Linked DNA regions of Homo sapiens: region 2 is linked to region 1. The links are contacts of gene promoters, found by promoter capture Hi-C in blood cells and fetal thymus (Javierre and others, 2016). All regions are on one chromosome and are shown on one strand. The core of a region is centred on a gene start or on the middle of the fragment in contact, and the rest is flanking DNA. Distances in the headings are between cores, read along the strand shown.

What was found. The method cuts DNA at HindIII sites, captures the fragments that hold promoters and counts their contacts. A CHiCAGO score of 5 or more calls a contact.
Region 2: a fragment that was not itself captured here is called in contact with the fragment with the promoter of RABEP1 in region 1 in 2 of 17 cell types (total B cells and naive B cells); the score reaches 8.5 in total B cells.

The regions. Positions count from the first base shown.
Region 1 is chr17:5,280,679-5,285,229 of GRCh38, reverse strand. RABEP1 (rabaptin, RAB GTPase binding effector protein 1) reads right to left here and starts at 2,946. Exons shown (of 18, transcript NM_004703.6): 1 at 2,710-2,946. The coding sequence starts at 2,743. RefSeq lists an enhancer at 141-659 and a silencer at 2,507-3,226. The HindIII fragment of the contact is 5,707 bases long and covers 1-3,729 here.
Region 2 is chr17:5,198,363-5,202,734 of GRCh38, reverse strand. All of the region lies in intron 1 of ZNF594-DT (ZNF594 divergent transcript), which reads right to left. Among named protein-coding and RNA genes, the nearest start is that of ZNF594-DT, 8.5 kb to the right of the region's middle. The HindIII fragment of the contact is 5,101 bases long and covers 86-4,372 here.

The sequences.
Region 1 (4,551 bases), core at 1,697-4,196:
CTAAAATTAGAAAATTTTCATTTTTAAATTCTCAAGGGAAAACAGATCAACTGAAATTTCTTTAACTATTAAAATTACCTGTATTCCAAATAAGTAAACTAAGATGCAGTATCAAAAACCCAAAACTTTTTTTAACTTACAAAATAATTACAATGAATAAAATGATTACATTTCATCCCTTCGATTTACACACAAATCGATTTTCCTAATCTACCATATGGCCATGAAAAACAGACAATATTTTTTTTTTTTTAAAAAGTCATCAAAGACAATCGCTTCTGAAACAGGATAAAACAAGATAAAGTCAAAGACTAAGCAGTTAGTTATCTTTCACCACCAGTTTGACACAAAAGAATTCTGGCGATTTTTTTTTTTTTTAATCAGCAGGACTAGGAAATTCAAACGTGCCTAAAGCTAAAATGGTCTACATGAGTTCAGCTAAAGACACAAATTAAATCCCCAAAAGCCGGACTCACGGGCTCACACCTACAATCCTAGCACTTTGGGAAGTGTAGGCAGGTGGATCCCTTGAGTTCAGGAGTTTGGGACCAGCCTAGGCAACATGGCAAAACGCCGTATCTACAAAAATACAAAAATTAGCTGGGAATAGTGGCATGCACCTGTAGTCACAGCTACTTGGGAGGCTGAGGTAGCAGGATTGCTTTGACCCCAGGAGGTCGAGGCTGCAGTGAGCCAAGATCGCGCCACTGCTCTCCAGCCTGGGCAACAGAGTGAGATACTGTCTCAAAGAAAAAAAAAAAAATTAAAATCCCCAAGATGAACTTCTAAGGCACTGACACAAGGCACTCAAACGTACCAAATTATCTCTCTCCTACTGTAAAAAGTAGCCATGGCTACCTACATTAATTTAAAATAAAAATTGCAATCTATGCAAACTAAATCTCATCCTAGAGTCACAAGATTTGAGAAATAGGAAAGAAACCTGAACTAAAATACCAAGAATACAAGATTTCCTAAAGCTAGTTTTCCCTAGCCTCGTTCAAGTGCTTAGTCACTTCTGCCTATTTACAAGGAAGACCATTTCATATCTTCAAAGAGGCAGGGAATTTTGATTCCAGACGGTCATGTCACCTGAGCTGCCCTAGACGTTTCTTTCCATGCAACTCAAGAGAAGGCAGCAGCCAGCTATGCATACCTACCACTCCTGTTCAGAACCACAAGCTCTCTGTATCTTGCCTCTGTGTGCAGTAACAAAGTGGGATTGTGGAAGAACAAAGTTTTCTTGCCTGACACCAAATGCAAAAGGTGATCATTAAAATGCAGCCTGAAGACATCCCAGTTTCCTCTCTCTGACAGCCCACCAAAAATGCTTCCCTTCCCTTCTCCTGGAACAGAAACAGCAAAGCAGGTTCTTATAAAAGTCTAAATGCTTACTGGACATCTCCCCTTAGGCAAGCAACAACACCCAAAACTACAGGCTAACAGGCTCTGAAGCACATTTCCCAGAGAGCAGCCAGAACCTTAAAATCTGATAACATGGTTTCAAGTTCCCCAAAGGCAAAAATAAAAAGTAAGGGTTTCACGAAAGGTTATTTTGAGACAACCCCAAGGAAAGCCAAGTTTTAAAGTACCTACTCCGTACCAAGCCCCTTTTCCCAACATTCTACTCTACTCACACTTAAAGATGCTAAGCACACACGCTGATTATAGAAATACACCAGAAAGTACTTTCACAACTAGATACAGTGGGACCTTGGAAAAGCCCAAGCACACTATTTCCAAACATCTATTCTAGGTGGTAAAACCTGGAACCATGTAGTCAATCTGTGAAGCACAGCTTAGTCCAATTTCCCAGAAGGTCACGAAGGGCTCTGACAACCAACTTTGATTATTTAGGATGGGGCCCTTTTTTCCTTCCAAGAATATAAATGACACATTTCTTCGACTTCACTTTTTTTTTTTTAGTTCCACAAGCAAATATCTTCAAGTAGTGCAAGTAGGCCTCAGCATTCTCAAACACTATTCTCATTATTCCTAATACCTCCATAATACTATTATTGTATATACACATTCGTGTTGCTATTTTTATAGATAAAATATAAAGGCATGAATTAACCTCTTGGTTAATTCGTGGGTGAGAATACTGAGGCTCAACGAGGCTAAGAAATGAGCCCAGAGCTTGCTGGTTAAGAATACAGGTCCTCTAGACTCCCAGGCCCCAACACTTAACCATTAAGCCACACTGCCATTCAGGGAATGCTACTAAATCCAGTTACTGTACACAACTACTTTCAGGTCACATAACTGGGTGCAAAGAGTTCTATAGCAAGGATTGGGGCGGCAGGGAGGGTACACTACCTAAGCTAAGATTTTTTTTCTTTAACGAATATAGCACATGTTCCCGATTTCCATCCTCCCCCACGGGCAGAACCCACGTGCCGGTCCCCCGCTACCCAGAACCGCTCCCTCCCCACACTACCCCACGCTACCCAGCAGCCTCCCCACGCCCTTCCCTCTGCCCTCCCGCAAGCGCTGCACCCGCGCCTCCCGCCCCCTCCCCAGCGACGGCAGCCGGGGCGCCCGCGCCGCCCTCGCGCGCCGCAGCCCGCGCGCCCCCGCCTCCGCCCGGCGGGGTCACCCCCGGGGCCTGCGCGCGCCCTTGCCGCCGCCTGCCCGCCCCGAAATCCTCCCGCGACGCCGACGCCGGGCAGGCCGCGCCCGCCGCGCCTGCCATGGTGGGCGCCTCACCGTCAGGCTGGGAAGCCGGGCCCGGCTGCGCCATGACCAGGCGGCCGGCCTCGGGGAGCGGGGATGGGCGGGGAAGCGGCGTCCTGGGCTCCCGCGGGCTCAGCTGGCGGAGGAGGCGTCAACCGAGCCGCCGCCGCCGCCGCCCAGAGAGAAACCGCTAAGGCTGGATCCGCCGGCGCCGCCACAGCCGCGGGCAGAGACGGACCCGACCGCCGACCTCCGCCTCCTCATCCTGACAGCGGGAAATAAGCAGTGCGCAGGCGCAGGGGGATGGGGCGGCACGTGACGTTGGCCCGAGGGGAGGGGCGGGGCCTCGGGAGCGCGGAGGGAGCGCGGAGGGAGCGCGGAGGGAGCGCGGAGGGAGCGCGGAGGGAGCGCGGAGGGAGCGCGGAGGGAGCGCGGAGGGAGCGCGGAGGGAGCGCGGCGGGAGGGGAGGGTTTCGGCGGAGCTGGGCGCCTGACCCAGCGGCGCGGGGAGGCTGAGTGCCGAGCGGAGCTGGAGAAGAGGGGCTGCAGCAGAGGCCTGGCCTCTCGAAGGTGCCGGTCCCGGTTCTCCACCCCAGCACAGTGAGGGGAAAAAAAAAAATGAGTAAGAGAGGAGGACCGATGGCGGGGTGCAGTTCCAGCCTCTACCTCTTCTAGCTTTGCGACCTTGGGAGAGTCACTTCACCTCTTGGAATTTTTATCAATATAATGGCTAAGAAAAGTTTAAACGAGGTAATAAAGTATGAAGAACTGTTTCCGACAGTACTGGGCCTGGACCCCAGGTCTTCTGGTGCAGAGGCCAGTATACTATCCATTCAGCAAATACGTTTGGGTTTTCAGTCGTGATAGATGCTGGAGATACAGCCAGGTACAGACCCTGCACTCATGGCAGGAAAGGAGAAATCATATACACAAAGTGTGGCCCTTATACTTGGGCCCCTGGGCCCTATACTTTAGGAACTCCCCTCTAATCACCACTCCCCGTCTGATTTCGACACCTGGAGTGCCCCATGCCAAGGAGGTAGTTTAAAAAGCTTTTTTTTTTTTTTTGGAGATAGAGTCTCACTCTGACACCCAGGCTGGAGTGCCATGGTGCGATCTCGGCTCACTGCAACCTCTGCCTCCCGGGTTCAAGCAATTCTCCTGCCTCAGCCTCCCGACTAGCTGGGACAACAGGCGCACGCCACCACACCCGGCTAATTTTTGTATTTTTAGTAGAGACGGGGTTTCACTATGTTGGTCAGGCTGGTCTCAAACCCTTGACCTCGTGATCCGCCTGCCTCAGCCTCCCAAAGTGCTGGGATTACAGGCGTGAGCCACCGCGCCCGGCCTAAAAAGCTATTTTGAAATCAGAGAGGAGCATCAGGAATTATGTACATTTTAAGACCCAGCAATCCCACCCCAGGATGAGGGAGTCCACAGGGTTTGGCACTTCAGGACCAAGTTCTGAATACTTGTGGCCCCAGAATTCCCTTTCCAGATGGCTGAAGCTGTGGTCTCTTTCCCAGATCCATTCTCTCTATGGCAGAGTCTAGACATCCCTAAAAGAAGCTAAAGTGAAAGCATAAAGAATGAGTTCATGTCCTTTGCAGGGACATGCATGAAGCTGGAAACCATCATTCTCAGCAAACTAACACAGGAAAAGAAAACCAAACACCTCATGTTCTCACTCATAAGTGGGAATTGAATAATGAGAACACATGGACACAGGGAGGGGAACATCACACACCGGGGCCTGTGGGGGGTGGGGGGAAGGGGAGGGAGAGCATTAGGACAAATACCTAATGCATGCGGGGCTTAAAACCTAGATGACGGGTTGATAGATGCAGCAAACCACCATGGCACATGTATACCTATG
Region 2 (4,372 bases), core at 1,387-3,886, 82 kb after region 1:
GAGAGAGAGAGAGAAAGAGAAAGAAAGACCATCTTTAATTGGTTTCTCTCTGCTAGCATTTTACTACAGGCATTCAAGAGAAGCTTTGCCGCACTCTCAACACTTTACTCAGATATTTTTTCCACCGAATATCCTATTTCATCACTCAGAATTTCTACCTTCCATAAAACACTAGGACATACAATTCAGCCACATTCTTTGCCAGATAATCAGGATCATTTTTCTGCCAGTTTCCAATAACATGTTCTTCATTTCCATCTGAGACCTCATCAGAATGGCCTTTAACATCCATACTTCTACTAGCCTTCTGGTACAACCTCTTAGGTAATCTCTAAGAAAACTGAGGCTTTCTCTGTAGCTCTCCTCTTCTTCTGAGCCCTCACCAGAATCACCCTTCACAATCTATTTACAACAATACAGGCTTATTTTGTGTGTGAGACAGAGCCTCATTCTGTCACCCAGGCTGAGAGTGTAGTGGCTCGATCTCAGCTCACTGCAACCTCCGCCTCCCAGGTTCAAGCGATTATCTTGCCTCAGCCTCCCAAGTAGCTGGGATTACAGGTGCCCACCACCACACCTGGCTAATCGTTGTATTTTAGTAGAGATGGGGTTTCACTATGTTGGCCAGCCTGGTCTTGAGCTCCTGACCTCAAGCAATCCACCTGCCCTGGCCTCCCAAAGTGCTGAGATTACAGGCATGAGCCACCGCGCCCAGCCAATTTTGACTCTTTAAAGAGATTCAAATAATCTCTTAAGTCAGTAGTCCAAAAGGCTACGACCAACAATTTTGGTTTATCTTCCCGTTGAAAGGATCCTCCATACAGAACTCCACATCCAAACCTATTCATGCTGTATCAACAACTTTAGAACCCAGTAACTCCAGGAGTCTGGTTATTATGACAAATGAATACAGTGGACCATCTCTTCTGCCGAGGCGACAGTTCCCTCATTTAACCCCACTAATAGCTAGATAATCCCCTAAAGACAGATTTAAAAAAAAATTTCTTGCCGGGCGCCATGGCTCACGCCTGTAATCCCAGTACTTTGGGAGGCTGAGGCGGATCATAAGGTCAGGAGATCGAAACCATCCTGGCCAAGATGATGAAACCCCGTCTCTACTAAAAATACAAAAATTAGCTGGCGTGGTTGTGCGCACCTGTAGTCCCAGCTACTCGGGAGGCTGAGGCAGGAGAATCGCTTGAACCTGGGAGATGGATGTTGCAGTGAGCTGAGATTGTGCCACTGCACTCTGGCCTGGCGAAAGAGCAAGACTGTATCTCAAAAACAAACAAACACAATTTCCATTTGTTTTTGTGATGTATGTTGCATCATAGTACTATTTCTGCGTGAACATGTCTCCTGAATTGGAGTTTGCTTCTGTTTATAACCTATTCCATCTGCTTTCCCTGAGTGCACATGTGTGTGCTCTGCCATGGCTAAGCGGCAGAATGGAATCTCACTTAAATTAACAGTTGATTGCCAAACACCCTCCAGCATAAATAGGTAACCGTTGACTGTGGTCGCATTTCATTTTACTGGAGCAGAGTGTACATACAACTATGTGCCAAACTACTGTCAGAAACAGCCAATTAATATCGCTGCACCCTTCCCCTTCAACTGTAAAACTCAACCTCTCATATTGACCAACGTATTTCTTTTTTTCTAGCTGGGATTATAGGCTCCCACCACCACGTCCGGCTAATTTTTGTATTTTTAGTAGAGATCGGGTTTCGCCATATTGGTCAGGCTGGTCTCGAACTCCTGACCTCAGGTGATCCACCTGTCTCGGCCTCACAAAGTGTTAGGATTACAGGCATGAGCCACTGCGCCCAGCCTGATCAACATATTCCATTGCCAAAATTTAATGCCATTAAAGTTTTAGATCAGCTACACTTGAACAATTAAATATTCTATGAATAATTTTAAAAAGCCCTAAACTGGTAAAAATAAACTCTCATTTACAAAGTGAACTATAAACTAACAGCCTTTAAGTTGTTTTAACACTAGATCCCTCTGTATTTTTTTTTTTTTTTTTACAAATTAGGTGTTAGTGGAACATGGTTTTAACAAAAATTGCAGAAGGTAGTATTTAAGAATAACGAAATTCCCCTGATGTTAAAAAAGGTTTATTTGCATAACTTGTACACTTTTATCCCCAATGAGCCCCCAAACAAAAATAAATTTTCCGATACATGTAATGTTGATACTGTACAAAGCCATTCTCAGTGACCAAGAAAAACTTCCTCTGAGAACATTTAAGATAAATGTGACCCTGCTTTTCACAGTATTGTTTAGAAAAGAAAATGAACATTTCATACAGCAACTCACTGTTGTATTGTATCACTAGTCTACTTTATTTTTTTTTCTTTTACTAGTCTAATAATTTCACAATTCTTTACAATTTGAGATTTGGGAAAAACAACGACAAAAACATCAAGGATATGTACTTTTTTTTTTTTTTTTTTGAGACAAGGTCTTACTCTGTCACCCAGGCTGGAGTGCAGCGGCACAATCTCAGCTAACTGCAACCTCTGCCTCCCAGGCTGAAGCCATCCTCCCACCTCAGCTTCCCAAGTAACTGGGACCACAGGCATGCACCACCATGCCTGGCTAATTTTTTTTTCCCCTAAGTTAGTAAAGGCTTCTAACTAACTTTTAAAATTATTTTCTGTAGAGATGGGGTTTTGCCATGTTGCCCAGGCTGGCCTCAAATTCCTGGGCTCAAGTGATTTGTCCTCCTCAGCCAGTTTTTTTGTTTGTTTGTTTGGTTGGTTTTTTTCTTTCTTTTTTTTTTTTTGAGACAGAGTCTTGCTCTGTCGCTCAGGCTGGAGTGCAGTGGCGCGATCTTGGCTCACTGCAACCTCTGCCTCCTGGGTTCAAGTGAGTCTCCTGCCTCAGCCTCCTGAGTAGCTGGGACTACAGGCGTGCACCACCATGCCCAGCTAATTTTTGTATTTTTAGTAGAGATGGGGTTTCACCATATTGGTTAGTCTGGTCTTGAACTCCTGACCTTGTGATCCACCCACTGAGGCCTCCCAAAGTGCTGGGATTACAGGCGTGAGCCACCGTACCCGGCCTGGTATTTTTGGGGTTTTTTTTGTTTGTTTTTTGTTTTTTAAGATTAGCTTTTGACCAGTTGAGGTGGTTCACGCCTGTAATCCCAGCACTTTGAGAGGCCGGATGGCTTGAGGTCAGGAGTTTGAGACCAGCCTGGCCAACATGATGAAACCCCATCTCTACTAAATATATAAAAAAAATAGTCAGGTGTGGTGGTGCGTGCCTATAATCCCAGCTACTCAGGAGGCTGAGACAGGAGAATTGCTTGAACCTGGCAGGTGGAAGGTGCAGTGAGCCAAGATTGCACCACTGCACTCCAGCCTGGGAGATGGACTGAGACTCCTTCTTAAGAAAAAAAAAAAAAAAAAAAAAAAAAAAAAGGCCAGGCGCAGTGGCTCACACCTATAATCCCAGCACTTTGGGAGGTTGAGGTGGGTGGATCACGAGGTCAGGAGTTTGAAACCAGCCTGGCCAACATGGTGAAACCCTGTCTCTACTAAAATACAAAAAATTAGCTGGGCGTGGGAGTGCGCGCCTATAATCCCAGCTTCTCGGGAAGCTGAGGCAGGGGAATCACTTGAATCCAGGAGGCGGAGGTTGCAGTGAGCCAAGATCGCGACACTGCACTCCAGCCTGGCAACAGAGCAAGACACCATCTCAAAATAAATTTAAAAAAAATAATAAATTAGCTTCAGCCACTTTGGAGAGCAATTTGGCAACACCTAGTAAAACTGAAATTGTGGACACTGTAAAACACAGCAACTCCACTTCGGGATAGATACCATAGAACAGCAGTCCCCAACCTTTTTGGCACTAGGGACGGGTTGGGAGGAAAGGGGGGAATGGTTTTGGTATGAAACTGCTCCACTTCAGATCATCAGCCATTACATTCTCGTAAAAGGCGTGCAACCCAGAGTCCTCATGTGTGCAGTTCACAATAAGGTTCGTGCTCCTATGAGAATGTAATACCGCCCCTGATCTAACAGGAGGCAGAGCTCAGGAAGTAATGCTCGCTTGCCCTCCACTTACTTCCTGCTGTGCAGCCTGGTTCCTAACAGGCCACAGACTGTACTGGTCCAGGCCCGGGCAATGGGGACCCTTGCCCTAGAACAGTGAGTCTCAAACCACTTGGTACCAGGTCTCCATTGCACTTAAAAATGATGGAGGGAGCCAGGCTCAGTGGTGAGAGCTTGTAGATCCACCTACTTAGGAGGTTGAGGTGGGTGGACTGCTTGAGCCCAGGAGTTAGAGGCCAGCCTGGGCAACATAGCAAGACTCAATCTCTACAAAAACTAAAAATAAAAACGTTAGCCAG